5 separate regions of the Homo sapiens genome follow, and regions 1, 2, 4 and 5 are each linked to region 3. The links are contacts of gene promoters, found by promoter capture Hi-C in blood cells and fetal thymus (Javierre and others, 2016). All regions are on one chromosome and are shown on one strand. The core of a region is centred on a gene start or on the middle of the fragment in contact, and the rest is flanking DNA. Distances in the headings are between cores, read along the strand shown. Region 1 overlaps VIL1 (villin 1). Region 2 overlaps VIL1 (villin 1). Region 3 holds the start of TMBIM1 (transmembrane BAX inhibitor motif containing 1). Region 4 overlaps USP37 (ubiquitin specific peptidase 37). Region 5 overlaps USP37 (ubiquitin specific peptidase 37).

Evidence for each region. Contacts are between HindIII fragments. The CHiCAGO score rates a contact against its expected background, and 5 or more counts as called.
Region 1: a fragment that was not itself captured here is called in contact with the fragment with the promoter of TMBIM1 in region 3 in 1 of 17 cell types (monocytes); the score reaches 6.6 in monocytes.
Region 2: a contact is called between a fragment that was not itself captured here and the fragment with the promoter of TMBIM1 in region 3, in 2 of 17 cell types (monocytes and neutrophils). The highest score is 5.8, in monocytes.
Region 4: a fragment that was not itself captured here is called in contact with the fragment with the promoter of TMBIM1 in region 3 in 4 of 17 cell types (neutrophils, naive B cells, monocytes and 1 more); the score reaches 7.0 in neutrophils.
Region 5: a contact is called between a fragment that was not itself captured here and the fragment with the promoter of TMBIM1 in region 3, in 1 of 17 cell types (naive CD4 T cells). The highest score is 6.4, in naive CD4 T cells.

What each region holds. Positions count from the first base shown.
Region 1 is chr2:218,439,595-218,443,024 of GRCh38, forward strand. It overlaps VIL1 (villin 1), which reads left to right. Exons shown (of 20, transcript NM_007127.3): 19 at 1,128-1,268. Among named protein-coding and RNA genes, the nearest start is that of VIL1, 22 kb to the left of the region's middle. The HindIII fragment of the contact is 5,722 bases long and covers 1-3,430 here.
Region 2 is chr2:218,422,599-218,425,798 of GRCh38, forward strand. It overlaps VIL1 (villin 1), which reads left to right. Exons shown (of 20, transcript NM_007127.3): 2 at 1,170-1,255; 3 at 1,679-1,753; 4 at 3,017-3,200. The coding sequence starts at 1,181. Among named protein-coding and RNA genes, the nearest start is that of VIL1, 5.1 kb to the left of the region's middle. RefSeq lists an enhancer at 1,808-2,308 and a silencer at 3,191-3,200. The HindIII fragment of the contact is 867 bases long and covers 851-1,717 here.
Region 3 is chr2:218,290,967-218,294,383 of GRCh38, forward strand. It overlaps TMBIM1 (transmembrane BAX inhibitor motif containing 1), which reads right to left and starts at 1,537. Exons shown (of 12, transcript NM_022152.6): 1 at 1,500-1,537. The region is part of intron 2 of PNKD (PNKD metallo-beta-lactamase domain containing); the gene reads left to right. RefSeq lists enhancers at 105-1,069, 1,070-2,032, 2,215-3,061 and a silencer at 1,315-1,794. The HindIII fragment of the contact is 24,107 bases long and covers 1-3,417 here.
Region 4 is chr2:218,483,679-218,487,035 of GRCh38, forward strand. It overlaps USP37 (ubiquitin specific peptidase 37), which reads right to left. Exons shown (of 26, transcript NM_020935.3): 16 at 1,986-2,065. Among named protein-coding and RNA genes, the nearest start is that of VIL1, 66 kb to the left of the region's middle. The HindIII fragment of the contact is 4,287 bases long and covers 1-3,357 here.
Region 5 is chr2:218,534,591-218,537,724 of GRCh38, forward strand. USP37 (ubiquitin specific peptidase 37) reads right to left here. Exons shown (of 26, transcript NM_020935.3): 9 at 19-116. Among named protein-coding and RNA genes, the nearest start is that of USP37, 32 kb to the right of the region's middle. The HindIII fragment of the contact is 1,789 bases long and covers 802-2,590 here.

The sequences.
Region 1 (3,430 bases), core at 14-2,513, 150 kb after region 3:
GATTGCTTGAGCCCAGGAGTTTGAGACTAGTCTTCGTAACATGGGGAAACCCCATCTTTACAAAAAATAAAAAACAGCCAGGTGTGGTGGTGCGTGCTTGTGGTCCCAGCTACTCAGGAGGCTGAGGTGGGAGGTTGGTTTGAACCCAGGAGGCAGAGGTTGCAGTTAGCTGAAATTGTGCCACTGCACTCCAGCCTGGGCAACAGAGTCAGACCCTGTCTCAAAAAAAAAAAAAAAAAAAAACCCGAAAAAAGAAAAGAAAAAAAATGTATTTAGCCTTTAGGCCTGGGACACGGGAATATGAAATCAAAACCTTTGCTTTGAGAAGTTCACAGGCTTATAGAGAGAACAAGACAGAGCTAACTCTGAGGAATGTGTCCAGAATTCAAGAGCAAGTTCACAAGCACACTGGGGTATAATCAACAGATGGTCAAAACCTGCAGCACTCATGAAACCCTTCTTGGTGGACTGACAGTACAGACTGGCATGTATAGATAGGTCAAGGTTAAGTGAATTTATAGATGACAATTTCACAACAGATAAGAGAGACAGGGTCATAAATATCCAGGCTAGATCTCCAACTCTGGGGAAAGCCATGGGAAAGTTAATGAATCGTTAAAGAAAAGAGTCATTTTCCACCAATGGACTTCGGTCAGAACAGACCACTAAGCTCTATGTTGTTGTTGTTGTTGTTTTGAGGAGTCTCTCTCTGTTGCCCAGGCTGAAGTGCAGTGGCGCAATCTCAGCTCACTGCAACCTCCACCTCCCAGGTTCAAACGATTCTCCTACCTCAGCCTCCTGAGTAGATGGGATTACAGGCGCCTGACACCACACCTGGCTAAGTTTTGTATTTTTAGTAGAGATGCGGTTTCACCATGTTAGACAGGCTGGTCTTGAACTCCTGACCTCAAGTGATCCACCCACCTCAGCCTCCCAAAGTGCTGGGATTACAGGCGTGAGCCACTGCACCCAGCCTATGTTGTTCTTATGAGTGTGTGTGTGGCAGGGTGGGGTGGGACATGGGAGGCTTCTTGAAGGTGGTGCCCTAGAGACTTCAGAGAGAAAGGCAGCCTGGGAGGTAGCTGTGCACCAGCTAAAGTAACCAGTGGTTTCCTTTTCTTTCCTAGGAGGTCACAAGCCCCAAAGTGGACGTGTTCAATGCTAACAGCAACCTCAGTTCTGGGCCTCTGCCCATCTTCCCCCTGGAGCAGCTAGTGAACAAGCCTGTAGAGGAGCTCCCCGAGGGTGTGGACCCCAGCAGGAAGGAGGTAGGTCAGATTCTCAAAGGAAGACAAAGAAGTCCATTTGTTGGACCACCATAGTTGACTCCCAGATTTGGCCCTGCAGGTGACTAGGTGCTGGGGATGAACAAGACAGATGGGATCCTGCCTTCATGCCACCTTATATCCCAGGAGGAGAGAGATCAGAGAAGCCTGGTTACACTATTATTTAATTTCAGGGTTAAGTGCCAGAAAGGTGAAGTACAGGAGCTGTGAAGAGTATTACAAACAGGGCCGGGTGCAGTGGCTCATGCCTGTAATCCCAGCACTTTGGGAGGCCGAGGTGGGTGGATCACCTGAGGTCAGGAGTTTGAGACCAGCCTGACCAATATGGGGAAACCCCATCTCTACTAAAACTACAAAAATTAGCCAGGTGTGGTGGTGTATGCCTGTAATCCCAGCTACTCGGGAGGCTGAGCCATGAGAATTGCTTGAACCCGGGAGGTGGAGGTTGCAGTGAGTCAAGATCATGCCACTGCACTCCACCCTGGGTGACAGAGTGAGACTGTCTCAAAAAAAGAAAAAAAAAAAAGGTATTACAAAGAGGAGCCTGATTTAGAGATTTCTTTCTGAAAGACAAATAGGAATTATTGAGGCAAAGTAAGTTAGTTCTGGAGAAGGGACAGCTAACATGAAGCCCAAAGGCAAGGAATAAAAATGGGGGCAAAACTGCAAGAGGGCCAGAGTGGCTGTGGTGGTGTGCAGAGCCAGGGAGGGAGGCAGGGCTGAACTGGCAGTGCCTTCTACCCCAAGTTAAGGATCGTATCATGTATCCTGGTGGTGAAGGGGAGTATCATTATGGTTGAAGTAGCAGAGTGACAGACTTACATTGGCCTGGCACGGTGGCTCATGCCTGTAATCCCAGCACTTTGAGAGGCCGAGGAATGCGGATCACCTGAGGTCAGGTGTTCGAGACCAGCCTGGCCAACATGGTGAAACCCCATCTCTACTAAAATTACAAAAATAGCCGGGCATGGTGGCTTGTGCCTATAATCCCAGCTACTCGGGATGCTGAGGCAGGAGAATCACTTGAACCCAGGAGGTGGAGGTTGCAGTGAGCCGAGATTTCACCATTGCACTCCAGCCTGGGCGACAAGAGTGTAACTCCATCTCAAAATGATAATAATAATAATAATTATAGCTTCTCATCGAACAATAGCCTGGAAGGTGGCAAGAGCAGCCATAGGAACACCAGTTAGGAGAGACAGCACAGCTGCTCTCAGGCCGACAGGTAGGTGGGAACCTAGAACAAGTCATGGTGGAGGAGGTGGAGAGAAACATTTAGGAGGTAAAATCAATGATATTTGGTAATTACTGGATAAAGAGTATGAGAGAAGAGAAAATAGCATCATTCTCCAAGATAGAAAACTGGATCAGGCTGAGCTTAGGGGAAGACAATCATGAGTTTGGTGGTAGCTATGTCCTTTGAGGTTTAGATACATGTTCAGTGGGCAAGCAATTCAGAGGAACACCAGGGCAGAGATATGAATTTAAGACTCATCAGCACATGGTCCATCTGGTAACTGGGGTTAGCACAGCAAGAAGAGCTTGTTCAAAACACTTTTTGTGTATGTGTGGGGAATGGAGTTTGGGGCTGGACACTTTTTTTTAAATTTTAGATAAGATCTCACTCTGTTGCCCAGGCTGGAGTGCTGTTGCAATCATGGCTTACTACAGCCTCAACTTTCTGGGCTCAAGTGATCCTCCCACCTCAGCCTCCCAAAGTGTTGGAATTACAGCGACTGCACCCAGCCTAAGAACACATTTCTAATATTCAATCCCACTTCATGAAGATCCAAAATAGGCTGCCAATCTAGCTTAGGGGTATTGAGAGGAGAGATAATATACTCTGTATAATAAGTCATAAAGTAGTCTTACAAATGAATCAAGGGATCTACAGAAGAGAGATACCTAGTTTCTCTCTCAGAACATCAAAGTCTGTTAAGGGTTTCGGCTCAATATTTATATAAGTGTTTTGTTCTCAGAGAATTTCAATTCTGCCTTTTACCTTAGAGAGCACATTCCTGTGTTCTCTCCTGGATTCTCCCACCTGTGAGGTTGCTGGGAGGCTAGGAGGCACATGGGTCCTCACTGTAACATTGGGATGATCCCTGTATGATGACAAGCTAAGCCCAGCCCTTGGTACATAG
Region 2 (3,200 bases), core at 34-2,533, 130 kb after region 3:
CCCTCAGGGCTCAGAAAAGGGAGTTTCTAAGTACTAAAAGGCCAAGTCACTAAGAGGTGACTCAAAGTCAAGGTGCAAGGAGAGATTAGATAGTGAGATTTCAGGCTGTCAGCGAGTGGAGGCCTGACCTGTCGGCCACATGCCCTCTCATTCATTATTCATCAGTTCAAGGAGCATTCATGGAGGGCAGCTCTCTGCCAGGCTGGGTGATAGGCTCCATGGAGATCGGGGTGGCCTCTGGCCTGATGAGGAGGAACCTCAAAACTAGGGAGGAGAATAACTGGGCACTAGTGGCTGTCTGCCCTAGTTCATATCAGAATCACTGGGGAGTTTTAAAAGCACCCATGCCTCACCTCCCAAAAGGCAGAAAATAAAGCACCCATGCCCAAGCCCCACCCTGGCCTAATTAAATCAGAATCACCAGAGCCTGGAGCATCAGCACGTTCCGAAGCTCCCCAGCTGAGGCTGATGAGCAGCAGGAGCGAATACAGCTACAGGTCCAAGCAAAAAGGGCCGGCCAGGCACAGTGGCTCATGCCTGTAATCCCAGCACTTTGGGAGGCTGTGACAGGTGGATCACCTGAGGTCAGGAGTTTGAGACCAGCCTGGCCCACATGGGGAAACCCTGTCTCTACTAAAAATACAAAATTAGCCAGGCGTGGTGGCTCACGCCTGTAATCCCAGCTATGCGGGAGGTTGAGGTAGGAGAATCACTTGAACCTGGGAGGCAGAGGTTGCAGTGAGCCAAGATCACGACACTGCACTCCAGCCTGTGCGACAGAGCGGGACTCCATCTCAAAAAGAAGAAGAAGAAAAAAATAATATGGAGAAAGGGCTGACATGAGGAGAAAAGCTTGGGGAGGGGGGTTCCTTCCAGTTTAGCGGGCAGAGAGTAGTTCACAGTGGGAGGGTTCACTCTGTTCATTCATTCATCCATCTCTCACTCCTTCCCTCCCCCTCTCTTCCTTATTGAGCAAAGTCACTGTGCTAGACACTGCGGATTTGGTACTAAACAAGCGGAAATGGTCCCTGAGTGGGGAGTAACCCTCTGTGCTCCCCCAAGCCCCTGAGCCTGCGACCTCCTGGCACTGTTGGGAGTTCTCTAGGGGCAGGCTGGAAGGGCAGCATCCGAACTCAGGGTGCCCCTGCTCCCAACGCCTTCTCCCCCAGGCTCACTCACCATGACCAAGCTGAGCGCCCAAGTCAAAGGCTCTCTCAACATCACCACCCCGGGGCTGCAGATATGGAGGATCGAGGTGAGGCCCTGTCTGGGCATGGGGGCTGCTCAGGCCTGGGGTGGAGGGAGGCAAGGCCAAGGAGGGAGGCCTGGGATTTCTCTTCGTTTCCTCTGCTCCTGCCCTGAAGCCCCTGAGAGCTCAGCCCCTCACCTCCCGCATCATCCACACCCCGGCTGGTCTCCCTTTCCCTTTCTCCATTTCTTCTCCCTCTGTCTCTCAACCTTCCTCTCCACTTCCTCTTCCTCACTCATCCCTTCCTTTCCCTCCATTGATTTTCCTTCTCCCGCCCCTCACAGTTTTCTTCTCCTCTCTTCCTTTTCTCTCCTTTCATTCCTGGGCCCGGCTCTTTGTCTCCGACGCCTCCTCCCCTTGGGCCCTCCTCCCAGGCCTAGGGGTCCTGGTGGTCCAGGGCAGCCCCTCTGACCCTCTTTCTCTCCTTAGGCCATGCAGATGGTGCCTGTTCCTTCCAGCACCTTTGGAAGCTTCTTCGATGGTGACTGCTACATCATCCTGGCTGTGAGTCAGGGGCAGGGGAGGGGGCTGAGCAGAGAGCAAAACCCACTGTGGTGTCAGGGAGGAAACAGGCTGGGGGCCGTGGGGAGAGTTGGCCTGGCTTCACCCCAAGACACAATTTACTGGGTATGCCCAAGTGCCCAACCCTGTGGGGGCTTCACAGAGGTCAGAGGCTCTTGCTGCCCTTGATCCACTGAGCTCCCAGCTGAGGTCAACTTCTGTGGATTCACAGTCTTGGGGAAACTTCTGAGTTGTTGCCGTATCACCCTAACTTGAGTCCACATTTCCACAATCCATAGTCATCTTCTTTTTTTAAAATTTTTTTCCGGATGGAGTCTCACTCTGTCACCCAGGCTGGAGTGCAGTGGAGCGACCTCGGCTCACTGCAACCTCCACTTCCCGGGTTCAAGCGATTCTCCTGCCTCAGCCTCTTGAGTAGCTTGGACTACAGGCACGTGCCACCACAGTCAGCTAATTTTTTTGTATTTTTTAGTAGAAACGGGGTTTCACCATGTTGATCAGGCTGGTTTCGAACTCTTGACCTCAGGTGATCCACTCGCCTCAGCCTCCCAAAATGCTGGGATTACAGGCATGAGCCACCATGCCCAGCCTGGCAGTCATCTTCATATCACCTTGATTTTCACCATACCCTGGTACCACCTGTACTATTAAGACATTTGTATTTTTTTCTTTATATTGACTCATTTTAAATTTTTATTTTATTTTATGTATTTATTATTATTATTTTTTGAGACAGAGTCTCGCTCTGTCGCCCAGGCTGGAGTGCAATGGCACAATCTTGGCTCACTGCAAACTCTGCCTCCTGGATTCAAGCGATTCTCGTGGCTCAGCCTCCTGAGTAGCTGGGATTACAGGCATCTGCCCCCACACCTGGCTAATTTTTGTATTTTTAGTAAAGACAGGGTTTTGCCATGTTGGCCAGGCTGGTCTTCAACTCCTGACCTCAGGTGATCCACTTGCCTCGACCTCCCAAAGTGCTGGGATTACAGGCGTGAGCCACTGTGCCTGGCACAAGCAAGTTATTTCTGAGATGAGGCAAGGGAGGCCCAGAGAGGAGAAGCCATGTCTCAGAGAGTCAATGGTAGAGCTGGGCCATGACTCAGGGCTCCTAACCGCCAGCCTAGTGCACTTGCCCTGTGCCACGCTCCCCCATAGTCCTGGACGGCACGTGTGTGGGAGGTCACACAGAGCTGGAGGGGCTGTGGGAGCCCAGGGTCTCGGGTACACTGGACACCTTTTCCCTAGATCCACAAGACAGCCAGCAGCCTGTCCTATGACATCCACTACTGGATTGGCCAGGACTCATCCCTGGATGAGCAGGGGGCAGCTGCCATCTACACCACACAGATGGATGACTTCCTGAAGGGCCGGGCTGTGCAGCACCGCGAGGTCCAGGGCAACGAGAGCGAGGCCTTCCGAGGCTACTTCA
Region 3 (3,417 bases), core at 287-2,786:
GAAAACACACAAGTATGTGTGTTTCCCTTCTCTGTGGCTTCTGCTTTTTCTGAAAGGCCCAGGGTGAGGCCTGCGGTTGGAGGTGCTCTGAGGTAGACAGCGTCTGGCTGAGGCACCCATTCCCAGGGGAGGAGGCTGAGCCCAGGTGGCTATTACCCCAGCTCATGACATGAGGCTCTCCCAACACTTACAGGATAACCCATCATTACCTCTCTGAAGGGCTCATTTTTACAAGTGAGGCCTTGAGGTCATAGCACAGAAAGACAGGGCCCCTGACACTGTGGTCCTGCCTCTTCCATTTAAGCTATAAACTGGTTCTCTGGATCCTCATGACTGGAGAGACAGAGAGAGGAGGCAGGTGAGAAGGAAGTATGGCTCCCCCTTTGCGCCAATAAAGCAGCCCCAGGAGGCACCTGGCTCCCCTGCCACCACTGGCCAGCCCAAAGTCGCCAGCTTGGAAACCAAAGCTCACTAATGAGATGAATATTTCAGAGCCCAGAGAACTGGACACCTGAGGGCCCTTCCATGACATCTGGCTCTGACCTGCGTTCCCAGGCCTACTTATCCCATGTCCAGGGTGCTCAGGTAGAACCCCAAACTCCTGGGTACCACGTAGAGGCCACAGAGGAGGGAGAGGAGATGGAGACCCCATAGGACAAGAATTGGTGCCGACCCCACAAGGCCAGGGCCTGGCCTCCCAGCAGCCTCCCTCTGCTTCCTCCCACTGGTCCCTGGCTCCTGCCCCAGTCTCTCCACTTGCTTTCCCTTTTCCCGTTTCTCTGTTTTGTTTTCACTCTAACCCAAAGAAGTCACGAGGAGGATGTTACTCCCCTGTAGTTCTGTGAACCCAGCCGGGAAACAGTGGCTGGAAGTGGGACTGGCAGAGGGCAAAGTCATGGTGATAGAGGTGGCCACTTCCCCATGCCAAACACTTGAGCTGCTCATTGGCTTCTGCCCCAGCTGCAAGCTAGGACCCCCCCTTCCCCACCCCTTAAATATTCACCTGTCTACACCGAGACTGGCCTCAGCGCGTGTGGGGGCAACCTGGGGTCCGTGCCAGGCCCTGGCTGTCTCCCCTCCCTCTTCCCTCTTCTCACCAGCTGAGGGCCATGAAAGCCCTCATCCCACACAGCTGGCCACTCGGGCTGGCATGGTGGATAGGCCCTGCGACAGAGAGGCCACTCGTGCCCGAAAGAGGGAACACGAGGACACCCCCAGACCCTGGCTCCGCTCACCAGTGCCCACAACACGCTGCTGGGCTCCCAAGGCTAACCAGGTGCCACAGACCCGGCCGCCCACCCGCGCGCCCAGGGAGAGCGAAACGCCAAGGGCCAGGAGGGGAGATCCCCATCTGGAACGGGCTCCTTGGGCCCAGGAGCGGGCAAGCCGGGAGCGCGCTCCGAAAAGTTTAGGCGCCCCGGCGCATGGCCGCCCCAGCCCTGGACCAGTCCCCACCGCCCACAGTCCCCAACGGCGCCGGCCCCGGCCCCCTGGCTTGCCTGCGCCGTTCCAGACGGAGCGTTCCTGGCCTCGGAGTGTTGCAAGTCCTCCGGGGCCGGGCAGGGCTAGGCTCGGCTGGGGCTCCGCGCCCCGCCCCGTCGCGCCGGCCTCGTGGGGCGGGGCCTCAGGGCGCCGCCAGGGGGCGCAGGGGTCTGTCCCGGGCGCGCGCGCCTCTCAGAGCCCCGACGACGCCTCACTAATAACACAGGGGTATTTTCGGATTTAAAGGCAATACATGATACTGATAGGAAGCTAGAAAAGACACAGAAATGCAGGGAAGAAAGTAATTTCTCTCCACCCCTCCTAGTTCCCAGGGGGAAGCGTTCGCTTTGGGTCCTTCTTTGGCTATTACATTTCTGTATGTATTTTGTTTTTCTACAGTGGGGTATATTGTATGGTGTTTTGTTTACTGCCCTTCTTTTTACTGTTTTATGATGAACATTTTTCTTCTCACTAAATAGTCTTCAAAAGCACAATCTTAATGCCGTGAAGTATTCCATTGCATGGCTATGCGGATTAAATTAATTTCCTACTGGAGGCCGTTTGTTTCCCATTTTTACATTACAAATAAATCAGTAATTAAAATCCTTGATAATTCTGTGTTTTTGAGATAAATGCACTTTTCGAGTTTAAAACTGCAAACATGCAAACCTAGAATCTCTGTTTATAATTACTCAACCAGGAAAGCAGGTGCTTTCCTCAAGTCAGAATTCAGAAGTCCTACATTGAGATGTAGATTACTACTGTTAGGTAGGTCTTAACCCTCATCTCAGTGAAGAATGCAGTAGCAAAGGAGGAAACAGTTTTGAGGAAGTTCTGAAATATTACTGGAGCCTGGGCATGGTGACTCACACCTGCGATCCTAGCACTTTTGGGAGGCCAAGGCCAGAGGATGGCTTGAGCCCAGGAGTTGGAGACCCAGCCTAGGCAACATAGAGAGACCTTGTCTCAATTTAAAAAGAGAAACATTACCGAGCCTTGCCTGAGTTTCTGTGGTTCCAAAGTCCAAGTTCTTTCCATGACACCAAGGCTGCCAGTAGTTGACCAACTCTGTTTAAAGTGCTTATCTCATGTTAATAGCTATAGGTCAGCACCACACCACCACTGAATGTCCTTTTTTTTTTTTTTTTTTTTTTCCAGACAGGGTCTCGCTCTGTCACCCAGGCTGGAGTGCAGTGGCGCCATCTCGGCTCACTGCATCCTCCTCCTGGTTTCAAGTGATTCTCCGGCCTCAGCCTCCTGAGTAGCTGGGATTACAAGTGTGTGCCACTACACCCAGCTAATTTTGTTTGTTTGCTTGTTTGTTTTGTTTGGTTTGTTTGTTTTGTAGAGATGGGTTTTCACGTTGTTGCATAGGCTGGTCTCAAACCCCTGAGCTCAAAGCAGTCAGCCCACTTTGGCCTCCCAAAGTGCTAGGATTACAGACATGAGCCACCACGTCCAGCCCCAAAACAGAGATTTAAAAAAAAAAAAAAAAAAAAAAGACAGATTTTTAAAAACTGCCCCCCATACACACACTATGTATGTTTATTTCTGTAAATATAGTTTAAGTAGGAGTTACTTAGGGGGACTAGTGGCCGTTATGGTGGGCTAGCTCCCCAGACACCCCAACCCTTCAGTGTACTTCCAGTTCCTACAGGCCAAGAACCTCATTTTAGGAAGTCCCCACCCAAGGTGTGATCTCACCAGAGCAAGTACAGTTCTGCTCAGTGTCTGTCTCCCCCTTGCTCAAGGAGTAGCGCCCTAGGTGAAATGCATGGCCCATGGAATCTGTCCAGATCCCTGACATTTTTTCATGCTCTCTACACTTGTGCTGTCTTAGTCCATCTGGGCTGCTACAACAAAAATACCTTAGAGTGGGTAATTTAGAAACAGCAGAAATGTATTGCTCACAGTTCTGGAGGGTGGGAAACGCAA
Region 4 (3,357 bases), core at 752-3,251, 190 kb after region 3:
TAGCAAGAGAATGGGAAAGAGAAAAGACATCCAGCATGTGAGGTCAAAACTAGTCTTTTTAACTGTACACATAATTTCCTTAGTGACAGCTGGTAACAACCAATTCTTTGCCTTAAGATTCTTCCTCCCACCTTCCTGGCCTCAAACCACTCACAAACAGGAAAGAACAAATTCTCTTAATCCAAAAATATAAGTCTCTTAAGTCAATATAATAATACTGCTATGATTTATACACTTGAGGAGGCCGAGGCGGCCACATCACCTGAGGTCAGGAGTTTGAGACCAGCCTGGCCAACACGGCGCGACCCTGTCTCTACCAAAAACACAAAAATTAGCCAGGCGTGGTGGCGCGTTCCTGTAATCCCAGCTACTCAGGAGGCTGAGGCAGGAGAATCGCTTGAACCCAGGAGGCGGGGGTTGCAGTGAGCCGAGATCATGCCACCGCATTCCAGCCTGGGCAACAGAACGAGACTCTGTTTGAAAAAAACAAAAAACACAACATTTTTTGTAGAGATGGGGGTCTCACCATGTTGCCCAGGCTGGTCTTGAACTCTTGGTCTCAAGCAAACCTTCCACCTTGGCTTCTCAAAATGTTGAGATTACAGGCGTGAACCACCACACCCAGCCTTTATAAAGTCATTTCTTTAAAACCAACTTCCTTGGCCCGGCGCGGTGGCTTATGCCTATAATCCCAGCACTTTGGGAGGCCAAGGCAGGTGGATCACCTGAGGTCAGGAGTTCAAGACCAACCTGGTCAACATGGCAAAACCCCGTCTCTACTAAAAATACAAAAATTAGCCAGGTGTGGTGGCATACAGCTGTAATCCCAGCTACTCGGGAGGCTGAGGCAGGAGAATCGCTTGAACCCGTGAGGCAGAGGTTGCGGTGAGCTGAGATCGTGCCACTGCACTCTAGCCTGGGGGACAGAGCAAGACTCTGTATCAAAACAACAACAACAACAACAACAACAAACAACCAAAAAAAAAAACCAACTCCCATTTTCTAGAAAGGAGTAGATTATGAAATGTAAAAGAACTAGTCTCTAGGGGCTAGGTTCCAGAAATTCCACACTTACTGACAGAATATTGAAGCTAATAAAAGAAAGTAAAGCACTCTGTAGGCAAAGTGCTACATAAATACTTAATGTTAATAACAACCTTGGTGTTTGCGATCTATTCTTGGAAAGAACTAAAAGCTGTCCTGTAACCACATAATAATTTTTTGTAACTACTTCAGTTTTATGTTTATACAGAGCAGATACAATATAAGTTAATTTCATTCCTATATCAGAAAATTTATCTTATGATTACAGGAAATTTACTAATTTATAAGATCCTTAGAATGAAGGAACGCACAAACTGCAAAAAATTACTCCCTGTTTTATTCTTATATACATGTGTGTATGTGTCTATAGCAGGTTTTTACTGAAAGTATGGGATAACAGAAAAAGACTACAGCACAACACAGGGCAACAAAATATAACTGAATATTACACATTACTGAATTAAAAATTGACTAGCTAGTTCTTATAATTATTCCAAAGTCTCAGCAGCTGTATCCTCTGTTGCCATTTTCTTGGAACTCTCAAGACCCTTTTTCTCTTCAATATTTCAAACGCTTTTCCTTCCTTCCTTTAAATATATATTTCTTTCTTTTGTAGAGATGGGGTTTCCCTACGTTACCCAGGCTGGTCTTGAACTCCTGGACTCAAGTGATCCTCCTACCTCAGCCTCCCAAAGTGCTAGGATTACAGGCGTGAGCTATCACACCTGGTCACCTTTCTTATGCAAAAGCATTCTAGCTCTCTGCCCTCTTACACTCTGCACATTTCAGCTTTCCTGACCCTCTTTACCAATCCATTCTGGTAACCTTCATTTATTCAGTAATATTTGTATGAACTTTAAAAAGAAAAATTGAAAAGCAATTAAATGTACCTGGGAATTCTTTAGTCCATAGCAAAAAAAAAAAAAAAAAAAAAAAATTACCTAGGAAGCCTGTTAAATTTGTGCCTGACAAGAGCACACTTCCCACCACACTTCTCACAAGAATACTCCAGTTCTTCGGCCTATAAAAAGAAGGAAAAATAAAGCATGAAGGTGAATCAGCATTAGTATCTTAAATGCAAATAATTTGCTCTAGTCTTATTAGTTCCATTAGTGGAATGACAACTCTGAACCAGTTTTAAAAATTCTGTGTCTAGAGCCATGAGCCTTACCAAATTAAGACCCAATCCTCAAAATATACCTATAATATCATGCCCCATTTCAGAACTTCTAATTTCCTTTTTCACCAAGAATATATCTAAATTTATGATAGTAACTAGACTCTAAAATAGAAGATTCTTAGCCTTTTCAGCCTTTTCCCCATGGACACATATGAACCACTACCAAGAGTATATCCAGATTTTACCATATGGCCATAGCAGAGATAAGATCACCTTTAGGTTAGGTAGAATTTCTTGTCTGTTAGGTGTAACGCTACCCCTTTCGCATAATGGAACTCAATCTTCTCGTGACAGCCCACTAAGAACAACTGCTTTAAAAGGATGAAAAGTTGGGGTGAATACCATTACCTAGAGAACACTGAAACAAGAAATCCTTAAAAAATGGGGGTAAAAATACATAGGAAAATCTTCAAAGTCTATGATAATAACAAGAATAGTTTAAAAATGACTAAAAGAAAAGCAGAGTATTTATCTTTGGGTAGAGCTCAACGTTCACCATTTAATAAACAGATTTTTTTGTCTGTTTGTTTTGACACAGAGCCTTGCTCTGTCACCCAGGCAACTGGGTGGGAGGGAGGGGCGTGATCTCAGCTCACTGCAACCTCCACCTCCAGGGTTCAAGTGATTCTCGTGCCTCAGCTTGCCAAGTAGCTGGGACTACAGGCATGTGCCACCATACCTGGCCAACTTTTGCATTTTTAGTAGAAGCAGGGTTTTGCCGTGTTGGCCAGGCTGGTATTGAACTCCTGACTTCAGGTGATTGGCCTCCCTTGGCCTCACCTTGGGATTACAGGTGGGAGCCACCACACCCAGCCAGATTTTTTATTTTTTTTATTTTTTTGAGACAGAGTCTTGCTCTGTCGCCCAGGCTGGAGTGCAGTGGCGCGATCTCGGCTCACTTCAAGCTCCACCTCCCAGGTTCACGCCATTCTCCTGCCTCAGCCTCCCGAGTAGCTGGGACTACAGGCGCCCGCCACCACGCCCAGCTAATTTTTTTGTATTTCTAGTAGAGACAGGGTTTCACCGTGTTAGCCAGGATGGTCTCGATCTCCTGACCTCGTGATCCTCCCACCTCAGCCTCCCAAAGTGCTGGGATTACAGGCGTTAGCCACCGTGCCCGGCCTTATTTTTAT
Region 5 (3,134 bases), core at 446-2,945, 240 kb after region 3:
GTAAGATCAAACACTTACCTGATGTCCTATTCTCTTCTGACTGTTTCAAACTCAGCTGCTTTTCTCTACTGCTGGTTAAATACTTTCTGGAGGGATCTGTCATGGCCTTGTTGTTCCTATAGTTAATAATTTTACATCAATATAGTACAGGTGTATAAAAATATTGTTCTTAATTTTAAATAGTTGTCATTAAAACATTTACATTTAAAGTGCCAAATTCATTGATATGCTTGAAAATTAAGCTACAAGATTGTTAGTCTCAAAAGGTCAATGACTTAAACAAATGAAAATTACAAAAATAATCTTTAATTACTATCTCAAGAGCCAATCCAATCCATGACTCTGATAACTTAGCAAAAGTAAAGGAGCATTTTTCTTTATATAAAAGTCAAATCAGAGACAGCAAGATTATTAGATTTTCTTGGCCAAAAGCAAGACCAGATAAAATGATTCAGCTACTAAGACCAAAAGAATCAATTAAAAAGTAAACTGTGGCCAGGCGCGGTGGCTCACTCCTGTAATCCCAGCACTTTGGGAGGCTGAGGCGGGCAGATCGCGAGGTCAGGAGTTCGAGACCAGCCTGGCCAACATAGTGAAACCCCGTCTCAACTAAAAATACAAAAATTAGCCAAGCATGGTGGCGCGTTCCTGTAGTCCCAGCTACTCGGGAGGCTGTGAGGCAGGAGAATCACTTGAACCTGGGAGGTGGAGGTTGCAGTGAGCCGTGATCGCGCCACTGCACTCCAGCTTGGGCAACAGAGTGAGTCTTAGTCTTAAAAAAAAAAAAAAGTACAATGTTCAAGCTTGGCAGTTTATAGGTTTACAAAGAAAAACAAATCAGGCTGGGCGCGGTGGCTCAAGCCTTAATCCTAGCAGCTTGGGAGGGCGAGGCGGGCGGATCACCTGAGGTTGGGAGTTCGAGACCAGCCTGGCCAACGTGGGAAACCCCATCTCTATTAAAAATACAAAAATTAGCTGGGAGTGGGCTGGATGCAGTGGCTCACACCTGTAATCCCAGCACTTTGGGAGGCCGAGGCAGGTGAATCATGAGGTCAGGAGATCAAGACCATCCTGGTTAACACAGTGAAACCCTGTCTCTACTAAAAATACAATAATTAGCTGGGCGTGGTGGCGGGCACCTGTAGTCCCATCTACGCAGGAGGCTGAGGTGGGAGAATGGCGTGAACCCGGGAGGCGGAGCTTGCAGTGAGCCAAGATCGCGCCACTGCACTCCAGCCTGGGTGACAGAGCGAGACTCTGTCTCAAAAAAAAAAAAATTAGCCAGGCGTGGTGGCAGGCGTCTGTGATCCCAGCTATTCAGGAGGCTGAGGCAGAAGTATTGCTTGAACCCAGAGGCAGAGGTTGCAGTGAGCCAGGGATCACGCCATTGCACTCCAGAATGGGTGACAAGAGCGAGACTTCATCTCAAAAAAAAAAAAAAAAAAAAAAAAAGGAAAAGAAAAATCAAAATCAAAACTGTGTATTCCACATGAATAGCAATACTATTTGCTAAGCAGCAACAGCATTTTAATTTATATTGATTAAAATTCTTTAGGATCATGAATACAAAGTTAAAATTTCTTTTAAAAGCCCTTTTCTCCCCTGTATTATTTTCAAATACCTCAACCCATATAAGTAGAGAGTGTCCATTCAAATAAATGTTCATGCTTTAACAGTGCTAATTTAAGGGGAACCATCATGAACTAAGCCTGTGGCAGACAATGCCTAAGTGTGCCCCACCTAGATTCCCACTGACTCATTTTTATATTCTCTCTTCCATATCTTCACACCAACTTATGTTTTTGATAGCCAGTACCAAGGGCTCTTCTTCACAGGACTGCCCTCAAGTTACTAGAGATACTTTGCCTGTAATCTCAGAGTCACAAACAAGGCCGGGCGCTACAGTAGAGAAGCCCAGCTCTCCTGATTTGGATTAAAACAACTTTATGGTGGAAGCTACATAACAGATTTCTGTAATATCAGGATGAAGACTAACCTTCATGTCCTTGTGTGACTTCTCCAGGATCACATCCATGCTTTGTTTCCTGCCCTTAACTATATTGCTTTCCTTACTCCCTTCACTATCTTCTCTGGGAGTACTTCCTTAGTAATTCACATGCACACTAATCTCCATTTCAGATTCTGCTTCTGGGGAACATAATCTACAACAGCTGGTACTAAAAGTGGGCCTAGGAAGCACACTCTAAGGATAGGATTCTGGAATTGGACCCTTGTTTGGCAATGGCAACAGAAATTCTGTTGCTGATAGTAATACCTCTGACATCTTATAGTGTTACAATTGCTAAGATTTTCACCTATGGTGAATTAGGATGAAATAAGGTAGAGAAGGATAGGGCTCACGCAGTATCTCCAGTATTTTAGAAATGTGGTAGAATGATTACACAATAGATCGTATTGGGGTAATGGAAATGTTCTGAAACTAGATAATGATGACGTAATATAACTAAAAAAATTTACTAAAAATCATTGACTTATATACCCTTAAAATGGGTCAATTACATGGTATGTAAATTGTAGCTTAATAAAGTTGTTTTTAAAATGTCGCAAATTATTTCACTCCCTATATTCAAGCTTCTAATCAATAAATTCAGTCTATTTCTTCATCCCTTAATGGGGCTAGTCCTGTGATTTCCTTTTCCCAAAACAATGTGACAGAAGTTAACAGTGTGTGAGTTCTGACCCTAAGTCTAAAGGTGCCCTGCAGGTTTCCACTCACTCTCTTGGAACCCTGCCACTGCTATGTGAATAATCCCAGGCTAGCCTGTTAACAGTGGAAGACACATGGCCCAATCACGCCCACCACTCAATGGCCAGTTATATGAGTGAGGCCATCCTAGACCAGTCAAACTCTAGCCAAACCATCTACTGACTACAGAGGCGTAACAAAATTAGAATCCAGGTACTATGAGCCAAACTGGGCCCAGATAAACAGAACCACCCAGGTGACCATAAATTCATAAGCAAAAATGAATAGTTACTATTTCAAGTCACTAAATTTTGGAGTGGTTTGGATACAGCAACAGATAAGATGTAGGTGATATCAGGTAAATAATCATCAAAAAGACTATGGAATTGACTGGTTGATGCTGAGTATTTATGTGTTCAAGAGAGAA